Linked DNA regions of Homo sapiens: regions 2, 3, 4 and 5 are each linked to region 1. The links are contacts of gene promoters, found by promoter capture Hi-C in human tissues and cell types (Jung and others, 2019). All regions are on one chromosome and are shown on one strand. Each heading gives the region's core, a stretch centred on a gene start or on the middle of the fragment in contact. The rest is flanking DNA. Distances are from core to core; before and after follow the strand shown.

Region 1 (2,700 bases), core at 23-2,522:
TCTCCATTAGTTGCTGTAAACGTTTAATCACTCTCAACATAAAATTTTCTGTGTGGTTAATAGAGTCAGACAGACCTGTTTGAATCCCAAATCTGACGCTCATTATTTGACCTTAGCCAAACTGGTTAACCAATCCAAGTCTCAGTTTCTTCATCTGCCAAAAGGGAACGATAAATGTATACTTGATACAGATGTGAGGGTGAAATGAGCTAACGTATGTGAAGCCCTCAGCACAGTGTCTGGCATAATAAAATAGGAGCTGTTCCTCTCCGTTGGAATAGTAGGGCAGGACTTGTGCAACACTGTGATGGGAAAACAAAGATAAAGGCAGAACAGAGTGCAACACATTAGGAACATTTCAGGGGAGGTTACCTAGAAGGGCCACTACATTCTTCTCAGGACTAAATCCCTCCTGACTGTTGTCTTCACCCCAATCCTGGAAAACTCACCGTCACCCCATATTTGAGTGCTAGTCCAGCCAGGGTGTCTCCGGGCTCCAACTGATGCTCCAGGCGTCTTTCCCTCACTGGGGAGCAGGCCGATTGCACCAGGCTTCCATATGAACGAGCCCGGCTCCCTTGAAGCAGTCCTGACCCCCCTGGCGGGGGCTGTCTAGACGGGGAAGCCATCTCTTCACCCTGCCAACAGCTAAGGTTGCAACTAGGGGAGGTACGACCGAGACTGCGACTGACAGGCCTGAAGTCTGGGAATGAATATTCAGGGGATTCCTTTCCCCCTCTCTCTTCCCCTGTGTCCCCGCCTCCCCAGCACTACGCCATCTGCCCCCTCCCGGTTTCTCCTCCCTCCAAGCTACTTATCCACAAATCTGTCCCTTGAGTATTCAGTCCCTCCCTAATTCTCCCCTAAGCACCCCTCCGACTTTGGACTCCCCCACAACTCCTCGCTACATTGACCTCTGACCTTTGAACTCTAGAAATAATCCTCAACACTCTTTCCTCAGTTTGCCCCCAAGTAGCCTGGCCTCAGGGCGCTCCAACATCCCAGCTCTCCCCGGTCCCGGGGTTTGTTTGCTAGAGTCAGGAACAAATCAGGCCCACCCCAGGTGAACTGTCGCCGCAGACGAAGAGCGTGAGGATTGCAAGAATTTGTAGTACACCTTCCACTCAGAGATCCTCAAAGGTCCGCTCCGCATAAGATAGGTCACACCCTCAAATTTCGGCTCCACATCTAGGTTGTTGTCCCTCCAAACGCCTCAGATCCGCCAAGATGCAAGGGCCTGGATCCAGTTGAGCGGCAAGGTCTTTGAGAAAAGACTTCATTTCCCAAAAGGCTCCGCGTCTGCGGAGTCGCAGGGCACCATAGGAAATGCAGTTCCCTCCGAGCACCAGAGAGTGGATTTCCGGATCGCGCAATGCATGCGTGGAAGTGCGTCCCCGGAAGTACGGAGGCCGACAGGAAGAGAAGGAAAAAAGAGAAGGCGCTGTCCCGCTCTTGCTACGGTGGCCTGGAGGAGTGGCGAAACCGGAACAGAGAATTTATCACTTCTGGGACTCACAGTCGTGATGTCTTTCAAGAGGGAAGGAGACGATTGGAGTCAACTCAATGTGCTCAAAGTAAGCGTGAGCGGAGAGGATCTGGAGCCGCTTCAGTCGCTCCCTGAAGGTTGGGAAGGAGCTTTGTTTCATTGCTCTGGCAACAACTCGGGGGTGCAGGAGAGAACCAGGCGACTTAGAGCTGTGTAGTGACTCCTTTTTCGGTCTATGATCGCTGTTCTCCCCAGGGTCCTTATTCCATTTCACTCCTCATTTCTATAATTTCACTTCCACCCCTCTCTCCTATCCCGCTGATCCCGTCCGGATTTCTTCCCCTACTCCCTGCAGAAAAGAAGAGTCGGGGACCTCCTAGCCAGTTACATTCCAGAGGATGAGGCGCTGATGCTTCGGGATGGACGGTAAGAGCAAGGAGTGGCTCAAGCCTGAGGGTTCTGCGGTTAGAGGCTCAATAGACTTTTTTTTTTTTTTCCTTTGAGACGGAGGTCTCGCGGTGCTGCCCAGGCTGCCCTCGAACTCTAGGGCTCAAGTGATCCTGCCTCCTCAGCGTCGCGATTAGCTGGGTTTACAAGCGCATGCCACCACGCCTGGCTTCAACAAACTTTTGTTATTAATTAGGACAGCAGGAGTACCTAGGATTCTTTGGCGGCCAGTGAGGACTGGAAGAAGTGGAGATTGGGTCACCAGGGAGTTGGGTTTTGCAAAGACTGCTAGGACAGGGTGGGACCTATGGCAGGGACGGGCCCAACCCTCTTCCCCTGGACCACTTATCCTCTTCTCTACCCCTGCTCAGCTTTGCTTGTGCCATCTGCCCCCATCGACCGGTACTGGACACCCTGGCCATGCTGACTGCCCACCGTGCAGGCAAGAAACATCTGTCCAGTAAGTTAGGGGGAAGACGGGATGGGGAATAAACCCTCGAAATCTCTGCACACCACTCTTGGTGCTATGCTTTTAATTCTGTTTCCCTTTCTCCTCAGGCTTGCAGCTTTTCTATGGCAAGAAGCAGCCGGGAAAGGAAAGAAAGCAGAATCCAAAACATCAGAATGAATTGAGAAGGGAAGAAACCAAAGCTGAGGTAATCAGAGAGTGGAGAGTGTGTTCTAGGCAAGACCCTGCTGCACACACCAGGCTGGAAGGGCGGAGGGCTGAAGGCTCTGACTCTGTCTCCCATCTCCTTACCAGGCTC
Region 2 (2,714 bases), core at 120-2,619, 330 kb before region 1:
GGTTGAAAAACAAGTACTTTTCTGTAGTCCCAGCTAATCAGGAGGCTGAGGCAGGAGGACTGCTTGAGGGCAGGAGTTTGAGGCTGTAGTGTGCTATGACTGTGCCTGTGAAGAGTCACTGTACTCTAGCCTCAGCAATAAAGCAAGACCTTGTCTCAAAAAAAAAAAAAAGAATAAAAAGAAAAAATTTTAAAAAGAAAAAAACCAAGTAATTTTATATGTTATAGAAACATATAGATCTGTTTGTCTTCTTTATTATACAGAAACGAAGAACAACTTTTGGGGAAAAGGAAGAACTAGAAAAATGAAATCATAAAAACATAAAGGAGGGGAAAACTGGTCAAGTGTGGTGGCTCATGCCGATAATCCCAGCCCTTTGAGAAGCCAAGATGGGAGGAGGAATGCTGAAGGCCAGGAGTTTGAGACCAGTCTGGGCAACAGACAGAACCTGTCTCTACAAAAAATTTAAAAATTGGTCAAGTGTGGTGACATGAACTACTCCTAGCTACTCAAGAAGCTGTAAGCAGGCAGATTACTGAGCCCAGAAGAGTTCAAGATTACAGTAAGCTATGATGTGCCACCGTACTCCAGCCTAGGCAAGAGAGAGACCCTGTCTCTTTTTTGGGTGGGAAAAAAGGAGGAAAACTAAAGATCAACAACACTAATATGAGTATATTGAAATTTCTTGCATTTTAACTACCAGTTTTTTTATCTGCTTCCACTTTAAATTTTTTTCTAGAGTTGCTCAAGAATAGATATGACTTGTTTCCTCTAGCCAAACTCTGGCCAAAAGACTGAACATAATAAAATAGGGGAGAAAAAAAGAACAACAGTACAGATACAAACAACAACAACAACAACAACAGAAAACACCTTATACATTGACCAATAACCATATCTATAGAATAAAAAGCTGTTATCATTGAACCTAGCACAAAGCCAAGCACCAGGAGGTAGAAAAAATACCAGATAATTATCCATACAAATGAGATAAAAACATGGATAATTCTTTTAGAACGGAAAAAAAAAAGTATTGTAGGTTTGGCTTTTACTGTTCTATTTATACCAATATTAAGATAAATGTAAAATATTATCACCAATGAAATATTTTCTAAGGCTGAGCCACAAAGTAGATAATCTCATATGGATAAAAAGAACTGACTATATTCATTAAAGTAGAAAATTCTTGAAGCCTTGCCAGAGTCAACAAACCAATTTAACAGCTAAAACATCTCTTAAGTCTCAGGAAAAAAACAAGAAAGGACTTCTCATTCATTTCCCATACACATAACTCTCACCTGTCAGGGCATTTTCTGAAGTGGAAAGCTGCTCACGAAGTTTATCCACATCATCTGGGTGCACCTGATCATAGAGTGTGCTGCCAAACCATTCAGACTGTGGCTGGTTCAAAACAGGAGTCACGGAGTCAGACACATACACCACCCTGCCTGTCTCACATGAGACAATAAACAGAAAGCCATCTGCTGCCTCCAAGATCAAATGTTTCAGTTCCTGCGCAAGAAAAAGAAATAGAAGTTAATATTTTACTCTGAAAAAACAAGTATTTCTATTCACAGGAAGAAGTAAGACACTTCAGGCCACATGCATCTCTCCGTAAGCAACTGCTGGTTCACACCTGATCCACAGCCACAGGTTTCCACCCTAAATGTAGTTCATCGATAAGAAAGTTTTTTCTAATACATGTTTCCTCACTTTCTCTATGTCACTATCCACCTCTTCCTCTCTATCTCAGGATTCAAGAAGAATAAAAAGGCTTGGGCTAGGCACAGCGGCTCCCGCCGGTAATCCCAGCACTTTGGGAGGTCAAAGTGGGAGGGTCACTGAGTCCAGGAGTTCAAGACCAGCCTAGGCAATGGGGCGAAACTCCATCTTTACAAACAAACAAAACAAAACAAAACAAAAACAAAAACAAAACTAGCCAGGTGTGGTGGCACACGCCTGTAGTCCCAGCTACTCCGGAGGCTGAGGTGGGAGGATCACCTGAGCCTGGGAAGCAGAGGTTGCAGTGAGCCGAGATCATACCACCACACTCCAGCCTGAGCGACAGAGCAAGAGACCCTGTCTCAAAAAAAAAAAGGCTTACCATGAACAATAATTGACTTCTTAATTCCATCCTCTCTGGTCTCTTTTTAGGATCTTGCTTGACAAATATTCCCACTTTCTCTCTTTCCCTTCAGGCCTATAAAAATGATCAAGTTTTCTCAATTCTAGATAAATCTTCCCTCAGTTTGACCCACCTCATCTCTCTTTTTCAGCAGCAAGCTTATACTAAGAATAATGTTATATTCACTGGCTTTATCCTCTTACCTTTCAATTATTTCTCAATCCCACTTCACTCTCACTCTAAACTACTGTTTTCCTGTTTGGTTTGGTTTTTGTTCTGCCAGGAACAGCATACATATATTTTTAATGAGGTTACTAATGTCCTCCTAATTACCAATTCAAGTCCCTTTTCCTGGGTCTTCATCACTTTATTCAACCTCTCTGCAGAATGTGACAATGTCGTCCATCTTATCCTTTAAATTTTATTTTTCCCTACCTTCTTCTATGAGACTGTACTCCAATTTTTGCTTCCTCTTCTGTTTCAGACTTCCTTTCCTTTGTTCAAGTCTTAAATGTAGACATTTCCAAAGTTCATCTTAAGCCCTCTTTATTAATACCATACTTTCTTCCTGGGAAACCATATTCACTCT
Region 3 (2,700 bases), core at 201-2,700, 360 kb before region 1:
CAGAAGAATGTAGTTAGGGAAAACTCTTCCATTTGGCAGGGAAACAGAGGAAAACTAGGCTTTATGAGGAAGAGAAAGGTAGACGGAAAAAGGGTGATAAAACAATGATAGTCAGGAGGGGCCTGTGTTTAGATAGGATGCTGGTACATCTGGTTCCAAGGACTTTGATCTAGGGGGATTTAGCCATTTCTCTCTTTCTCTCTCTCTCTCTCTCTCGGGAGATTTAGGCAACACACACTCTCTCTGTTTCTCTCTCTGTCTCTCTCTCTCTCACACACACACACACACACACACACACACACACACACACACACACGTACACAACCAGAAATGGGGGATAGAAACTGGACAATCAGAATGGGCTCAGTGCGTTTCCTCCAGGGTCCCTAGCAGGCTTGGAGACAGACAAATAGCAAGGTGGTAGTGGGGTTCAGAATACACAAAGGAGAGATTTCCGTCTAAGTTTTGCCTCCTGATCATTTCTTCGAGGCGTTCTTCTCTTTCGTGCCTAAATTCTGGTACTTTCCCAGATCTTGTCAGAAGAGGACAAGGGAAAATAGGACAATGTTTCCTGTTTTCTGAGACATTGTATATCTCCTCATTCTCCTTATGCATTTCTTCTTCCTTTTTCTCTCCCTTCCCTCCTTAGGCAGGAAACTGCCCTAATCTTAACCAGATGCTGCGGGCAAGGTTTTTTATTTTTCCCCTAACAACAAAAACCCACTGTGGCTGCCGCAAAGGACAAGAAGCCTCAGATCCAAGGTTTGTTAGAAGAATGTTCAGACTGAAAAGCAATGTTCTATGATGATGAAATTCACAGCTTTTCATAAGTTTACTCTAGTTAGCTTCACTCATTTCTTGCATTGGCTTTCTTAATTACAAATCCTCCATTTTAAGAACAATTTGCAGCCTGCAGCATGACATATGGCTTACACAATTGCTTATAGTCCATTTACATGTAATTTTGCAAACTGGCAAAATGTCCAGTAGGACATTTAAAAACTAGAGTGTTAAGGGCTTTGAGATGTCTCAGTGAACAGGAAGCACTGAGCTACTACCTCCCCATACCACTCTCCTCCTCCTCACTAAGGAGTTAACCGTTTTGATCCTTGTTGGCCAAAGTAGAAAACACTGCAGAAAGGCCACTCTTGAAGGATGGGGAAATGATTCCCTATATACTTTGCTTTTACTAACAATCATGTATGTATATATATAAATCATACAAGGAATTCTACAGATTTCCAGGCAGATTTTATTTAGCCAGGGAATGACCTAAGAAGTGCATCTCTGTTTTCATCTGCAGAGGCTAAAAGTTTATTGTGATCCTCAAGTCACTACATCCCTAATACTCAGAGAATTGACAGGAATGAAAAGCTAAAAGATCTAGGAAGTTGCAAACGTTACCTGCTGATGGAAATCTGTTGTCTGGCTTCGTTTCGGCAGCAAAGTGTGGGCACACCATCAGGGGTGCTAGATTTATTCCATCGGGATTGCGGAAGTCAGCTCCAGTGATCGGCTGGAAAATTTGGGTAAGAGGAGGAGGCGGGGATAGAAATGCTGAGAGAAGGAAGGGTAGGGAGGAGGGAAGGAGGCAGTGGATTTGCAGTGTTTCTGTGTGTATGCAGCATGTGTGCCAGGGTAGGGAATTACTAGCTATTTAGTCTCACAAGACTGTCTTTGGTGGCAAATAACAAGACCTCAATATCTATTGACTCAAATAGGAGCTTACTTTCTCTTTTGGTGAGTAAAAGGAAGGACACAGCCCTAGTCTCTCCCATCCTTCTTCTTCAATATCTTTATTTTAATATTGGGGGATTATATCTTTTCCTACCCCTTTCCTGTTAGGATTTACCTCTCCAACATTGAAACCTATTTTCATATTTGTGTCTGACTCTCACCTCTGGGATGCGGTAATGAACATAAAAGGCTATAAAAGAATAATGTAATGGAAGCCATAGGCTCCAGAATTCTTTGTATTTTTATAAGCTTGTTGGTTGCAAGTTGTCATTACTTCCAGGCAGAATAGTTTTCCCAGCCTAATGTGGTTTTGCTGAAGGAGGATATGCCCAGAAAGTCCAGATGAAACTGTCTTTAAAAGTAACCAAAAACAGCAGTCCTGGTTATTTATGACAGCACTTGAATCAATGCCGTAAGTTCTGATGGACTCACATGTGACTCTGTTGCTAAAACTCTCAGGTGGTGGGATGCCCGATAAACATCATCTGTCTCAATTAAAATCCCCAATCTAGGACAAGTCACATGAGCTTCTCCAAATGCTTCCCCAACATCCAAGCATGTGACAGATCATAAGAATCTAGCTGATTCCTCAAACCACACCCCAAACTTCATTTTCTTCCATAAACAGATGTGGGGAAGGAGAAAAAAAGGCTTCTTGGAATAGAAAGGATAATAAATGGGATCTGTAATAGACTCAGTTTCTAGCTGGATTCCATGCATAAACCCTCAAAAATACAGGCTTATGCCTCTGGATTTTAAGAGCTGCTAACAGGCTAGGCGCAGTGGTTCACGCCTGTAATCCCAGGCCTTTGGGAGGCCAAAGCATGTGGATCACCTAAGGTCAGGAGTTCGAGACTAGCCTGGCCAACATATAGTGAAACCCCATCTCTACTAAAAAAAAAAAACACAAAAATTAGCTGGGCATGGTGGCACACACCTGTAGTGCCAGCTACTTGGGAAGCT
Region 4 (2,700 bases), core at 16-2,515, 260 kb before region 1:
ATGTTTTCATTTCTCCTGGGGACAGCCATAGGAGTGGAATTGCTGCGTCATATGGTGGCTTTTTTTTTTTTTTTTTTTTTTTGAGACGGAGTCTCGCACTCTCACCCAGGCTGGAGTGCAGTGGCGCAATCTTGGCTCACCGCAAGCTCCGCCTCCCAGGTTCACGCCATTCTCCTGCCTCAGCCTCCCGAGTAGCTGGGACTACAGGCACCTGCCACCACGCCCGGCTAATTTTTTGTATTTTTAGTAGAGATGGGGTTTCACCGTGTTAGCCAGGATGGTCTTGATCTCCTAACCTTGTGATCCACCCGCCTTGGCCTCCCAAAGTGCTGGGATTACAGGCGTGAGCCACCGTGCCCAGCCAGCTTTTTTTTTTTTTTTTAGACAGTGTCTCACTCTGTCACTCAGGCTGGAGTATGGTGGCATGATCAAAGCTCACTGCAGCCTCCCAGGCTCAGGTGATCCTCCCGCCTCTGCCCCCCAAGTAGCTGGGATTACAGGTGTGCGCCATCACATCTAACTAATTTTTGTATTTTCTGTAGAGAGGAAGGTTTGCCATGTTGCCCAGGCTGGTCTTGAACTCCTGGACTAAAGTGATCCTCCACCCACCTTGGCTGCCCAAAGTGCTGGGATTATAGGCGTGAGCCACCATACCTGGCCAGTAACTCTTATGTTTCATAATTTTAGGAACTTCCAGACTGTTTTCCAAAGTAACTTTGCCACTTTACATTCCCACCAACCGTCAATGAGGGTTTCAATTACTTTCTACCTTTGTCAACACTTAATCTGACTTGATTCTAGTCATCCTAGTGGGTGTGAAGTGGTATCTCAAAGTTTTGATTTCCATTTCCCTGATGACTAATTACGTTGACCATTTAAAAAATGTGTTTATTGGCCATTTGCATATCTTCCTTATGCAGAAAAAGAAATTTCTATTCATATCCTTTGCCTAATTTTTAATTGAGTTGTCTTTTCATTGTTTCGTTGTAACTTTGGTTATCAGGTCTCTCTCCGTCACCCAGGCTGGAGTACAGTGGTGCGATCATAGCTCACTATAACCCTGAACTCCTGGGCTCAAAGGATCCTTCTGCCTCAGCCTCTCCAGTAGCTAGGACCACACACATATGCCACACACCTAGCTAATTAAAAAAAAAAAAATTAAGAAACAAGGTATCTCCTTACTACCCAGGCTGGTCTCAAACTCCTGACCTCAAGTGATCCTCCCACCTCATCCTCCCAAAGTGCTGGTCAGGCATAAGCCACCGTGCCCAGCCCATTTTCTTGATAATAAGCTTCTTAAAGTACAAAAGTTGGCTGGGCGCAGTGGGTCACGCCTGTAATCCCAGCACTTTGGGAGGCCAAGGGGGGCAGATCACCTGAGGTCAGGAGTTTGAGCCCAGCCTGGCCAACATGGTGAAACCCGACTCTACTAAAAATACAAAACGTAGCCGGGCATGGTGGGGGCGCCTATAATCCCAGCTACTCGGGAGGGTGAGGCAGGAGAATCGCTTGAACCTGGGAGGCAGAGGTTGCAGTGAGCCGAGATCACGCCATTGCCCTCCAGCCTGGGCGACAGAGCAAGACTCCTTCTCAAAAAAAAAAAAAAAAAAAGTACAAAAGTGTTGACCAGGCACAGTAGCTCATACAATCCTAACACTTTGGGAGGCTAAGGAGGGCAGATCTCTTGAGCCCAGGAGTTTGAGACCAGCCTGGGCAACATGGTGAAACTCCATCTCTACCAAAACAAACAAACAAAAAACAATTAGCCGGGCATGATGACGTGCACCTGTAGTCCCAGCTACTTGGAAGGTTGAGATGGGAGGATCAATTTAGCCTGGGAGGTCGAGGCTGCAGTGACCCCAGACGGCACCATAGCACTCCAGCCTGGGTGACAAAGTGAGACCCTGTCTCAAAGAAAAAAGTTTTAAATTTTGATGAAGTCCAGTTTCTCTCTTTTTTGTTGCTCGTGATTTTGCTGTCATATCTAAGAATCCTTACATTTAGGTCTTTGATCCATTTTAAGTTTATCTTTGTATGTGGTGTGAAATTGTTACCAAAACACCAGGAGTTCGGTCTAGGTCCTGCTGCTCACCACACAGAAAGATGAGCAATACCTGCCCCTGAGATGACAGGTATTGCCAAAGAAGAAGGCTTTACTCAGGTGCTGCAGCAGAGGAAACCGGAACTCAGTCACAAATCCATCTCCCTGACCAACTAAAATTAGAGGTTTATATAGCAAGGAAGAAATGTAACAATGTGTAGGAAAACAGGAACTCAGGAGGCCAAGAAAGCACTTGTGACCAATGAGGGGTCTTGCACTTCATTGTCAGGATGGGATGATCTGGTTGAGTTTCAGTTCCTTGATACTTTTTTTGAGAGGCCTGGTGGCCCTTTCCTGAAGAAGGAACTCAACATAAAACAAATGTAAGTTTTAAGCTTTAAGACCAGAAGGTCAATTTCTTTTTCTTTTTTCTGTTTTTTTTTTTTCTTTTTTTTTTTTTTTGAGACGGGTCTCCATCTGTCACCCAGGCTGGAGTGCAGTGGCATGATCTCAGCTCACTGCAACCTCTGCCTCCCAGGTTCAAGCAATTTTCCTGCCTCAGTCTCCTGAGTAGCTGGGATTACAGGTGTGTGCTACCACACCCAGCTAATTTTTATATTTTTAGTAGACATGGGGTTTCGCCATGTTGGCCAGGCTGG
Region 5 (2,810 bases), core at 279-2,778, 470 kb before region 1:
AAAAACACAAAAAATAGAAAGTAAAAAAGAATACGAAAAACTAAATAGAAATACATGTTCTATATTTCCTTCCCATACCCTAATGACTCATTTCATGTACTCACTTTGGAGATCACAAGTCTAGACGATAACATTCAGAAAATCATGTGTAGTAATTCCACAGTCAGTAAACTTAGCAGCTCTAGTCCTAGCTAGCCATATCTTGCAAATACACAAGGAGCTGCAAACAAAAATTACTGGCAAGAGAGTGTTGAAAGATTAACAAATTTTCTCAATTTAAAAAAAAAAGTCAAAGAACATGTCTTTTATTCTATGTACTACGGTCAAAAGAAACTGCACTAAATCATTTGTGATAAAGTTTATAGTTAGCATACTTTATTTTATATAAATCTAGATATCAGTTTTTAAGATAATATATAACAAATATTTTAAATCAGCAATTATATAAAGGAGTATCTTTTTCAAGATCAAAATAATGGTATTTAAGAGTTGCTATGACTGGACTCGTTTCTACTCCTCTAGCAATATTTCCCATTGCTCCTAATAAGTAGTGTTGCCAGACTTTTTCTCAAAAATGTCTCATGCTTTCTTTCTGCTTCTGCTCCTCTGTACTTGCTGGGGTCTTCACCCTTTTCTCTTCCTCTTTACATTCTACCCATTCTTTAAAGGCCTTGTGAAGGCCTTTAAGTGACCTCCTCTTTTCTATTACCTATGTGTCTCATGGCCACTCCCTCAGCTGTTTCACAGAGCTTTATTTATACTCACTTCCTTTAAAGTATTTATTATAGTCTTTCTCTTGGTATAGCTGTCTCTCAACTGTAAACTTCTTAAGAACAGGGATATTGTCTTCTTGGGTTTATATATTCTCCATAGCAACTAGCACTGTCTTTAACATTGTTATTGCTCGATAAATTTATATTGATTAAAATGAATACTCAGAAGTGCATGTGAACATTTAAAATAGAAATACAAATGAAGTGAGCTACAAAAGTTTTTTTGTACAAGGGTATATTTCAAATATAATTTGTTATGGGAGGTGGGAAGAAAAGTGAAGGAGGAAGAGAACCATGAAATAAATTCTTAAGCGCACTAAGCCTATCTGGCACTGTGAATAGGGACTATTTCCTAAACCAATCCAAGAAACTTTAAACCTTCGCGGGGCAGGGGGGGAGGGGGAGAGGGGGCGGTTTCTTTGAGAAATTAGTTTCATCTGCACATTTACTAGTTAAAAATCCTACTTGAAAGAAAACAAATGGCCCAAATGAATACAAACCTTTCCCTCCCATAAAATAATAATTTTAAAAAATAGAGGTTTTTTTTGGTGGGGGGAAGGGACGTTAGGAAATGTAATTTTCTCGTTGCTTACCTGATGTTACTCCTGGGTTATGGCTGGACGCAGGCTGTAGCTTGTGCTGTATTTTAGAAGGACACCTGTTCTCCCCACCCCACCCCCGTCCTAGTAGGTGAAAAACTTAGCCACGCAGAGAGCACAAACTTCCTGATCCTTCGATGCAGAGAAGGAATAACACATCAGCTTCCTCAGGATCACTAGGCAACCTACCTTGGTGTTTCTTCATTGCGCCAATCAGAAATCACCAAGGTTGAGTCCCGCCAATCGGAGCTCACAGGGGGAGGCTCTCCCCCAGCTATTCTGTTGCGATCCAGACAAACACCACCAAAAGGAGGCAGGTTTGCGTTCAACCTGACAGCTGGTCAATCCAATGAAGGAACCTTGGTGGAAGAGAGGAAAGAGGGCTGCGCTCCCCACCCCCATTAAACCAGCCAATCAAAGCGCTGAGTGAGCTAACATGGGCTGCCAATCTCGAAAGGTTTCTGTGGGTTAATTTCAGCGTAGCAGGTGTGTTGCTGTAGTAGCGTATACTGGGACAATTAAGTGAGATGTGTTGGGATCCAAGCAATACAGCTAAAAATAAATAAATATTTTTACATTGGTTGTTTCTGACAGTCAGTTTATCCTTGACTTGACTGTTCCAGAAAAACATGATCTGGGTCAGTTTGTGTACGTTTATATGGTTTACCTTAAACAGGATGAATACATTTCTACCATCGCATATGTACCAGCATTCCCTATAGCGCTTATTACTGACAAACCCATGGATGTGTATGTTTTTGGAATATGGCTGCTGAAACTACAAGCGGCAAACAGACCAAGTTTTAAGTCTTCCTTTTTCTAAAGCAAAGAAAGCAGGCAAGGCTGGAACTAGCTCCCAGGTTTCTCATTAAAAGCACAGCATTTTTCATACTACCACTCAAAAATTCTAGAAAGTGTGCTCAACTCTTCTTGCAAAGTAATAGCTACCGAAATCATCTAAAAATTAGTATTCCCTATCCCCCCATCCTCCTACCAGCCTTTCAAATGAATGAAGCCATATTTCCTGCTACTTAAATAAAAATTAGAAGCGATAAAAGGGCCTACGTACTGAACAATATTTTATTTATGCTGCAAAAAATGCCATACTTTAAAAATCAGTCTTTTTGTCCTGTAAAAAAAAGCATAGTAAAGGTAAAGCACCAATTCTTAAATTGTACATTATATATTAAAATGTTAATACATTATGTCAAAATATTGAAGAACATTGTTTTAATAACAGCACAATGACAAAAGAGCCAGTTAAATGGTATAATTTTAACATAAGTAAAAAGTGAATCCATACCAAATTTTAATACCAAAGTAAACATTACTGTTTAGAAAAATGGCATTAGAGGGCCTTAACAGTTAGTATATATTTAAAGGAAATATTAAGTAGGTAATGAACAAAATCAATTTTGAAATTTTACTTATTACCGAA

Evidence for each region. The method cuts DNA at HindIII sites, captures the fragments that hold promoters and counts their contacts. A contact is called where the count stands out against the background at its distance.
Region 2: a contact is called between a fragment that was not itself captured here and the fragment with the promoter of LYSMD1 in region 1, in 1 of the 25 tissues and cell types used here (liver).
Region 3: the fragment with the promoter of CTSK here is called in contact with the fragment with the promoter of LYSMD1 in region 1 in 2 of the 25 tissues and cell types used here (aorta and liver).
Region 4: a contact is called between a fragment that was not itself captured here and the fragment with the promoter of LYSMD1 in region 1, in 2 of the 25 tissues and cell types used here (liver and spleen).
Region 5: the fragment with the promoter of GOLPH3L here is called in contact with the fragment with the promoter of LYSMD1 in region 1 in 1 of the 25 tissues and cell types used here (lymphoblastoid cells).

Annotation. Positions count from the first base shown.
Region 1 is chr1:151,164,630-151,167,329 of GRCh38, forward strand. LYSMD1 (LysM domain containing 1) reads right to left here and starts at 1,273. Exons shown (of 3, transcript NM_212551.5): 1 at 450-1,273. The coding sequence starts at 629. It overlaps TNFAIP8L2-SCNM1 (TNFAIP8L2-SCNM1 readthrough), which reads left to right. Exons shown (of 7, transcript NR_144937.2): 2 at 1,842-1,912; 3 at 2,305-2,393; 4 at 2,492-2,589; 5 at 2,697-2,700. SCNM1 (sodium channel modifier 1) reads left to right here and starts at 1,515. Exons shown (of 7, transcript NM_024041.4): 1 at 1,515-1,574; 2 at 1,842-1,912; 3 at 2,305-2,393; 4 at 2,492-2,589; 5 at 2,697-2,700. The coding sequence starts at 1,524. RefSeq lists enhancers at 755-1,460, 1,214-1,493, 1,461-2,167, 1,514-1,563. The HindIII fragment of the contact is 12,820 bases long and covers 1-2,700 here.
Region 2 is chr1:150,834,982-150,837,695 of GRCh38, forward strand. It overlaps ARNT (aryl hydrocarbon receptor nuclear translocator), which reads right to left. Exons shown (of 22, transcript NM_001668.4): 7 at 1,299-1,512. Among named protein-coding and RNA genes, the nearest start is that of CTSK, 28 kb to the left of the region's middle. RefSeq lists an enhancer at 1,360-1,504 and a cis regulatory region at 1,432. The HindIII fragment of the contact is 8,676 bases long and covers 1-2,714 here.
Region 3 is chr1:150,806,810-150,809,509 of GRCh38, forward strand. CTSK (cathepsin K) reads right to left here and starts at 1,451. Exons shown (of 8, transcript NM_000396.4): 1 at 1,405-1,451. The HindIII fragment of the contact is 16,762 bases long and covers 1-2,669 here.
Region 4 is chr1:150,907,646-150,910,345 of GRCh38, forward strand. All of the region lies in intron 1 of CTXND2 (cortexin domain containing 2), which reads left to right. All of the region lies in intron 1 of LOC107985204 (a long non-coding RNA gene), which reads right to left. Among named protein-coding and RNA genes, the nearest start is that of SETDB1, 17 kb to the right of the region's middle. The HindIII fragment of the contact is 6,057 bases long and covers 1-2,700 here.
Region 5 is chr1:150,695,626-150,698,435 of GRCh38, forward strand. It overlaps GOLPH3L (golgi phosphoprotein 3 like), which reads right to left and starts at 1,529. Exons shown (of 5, transcript NM_018178.6): 1 at 1,367-1,529. HORMAD1 (HORMA domain containing 1) reads right to left here. Exons shown (of 15, transcript NM_032132.5): 15 at 2,435-2,810. The HindIII fragment of the contact is 17,441 bases long and covers 1-2,810 here.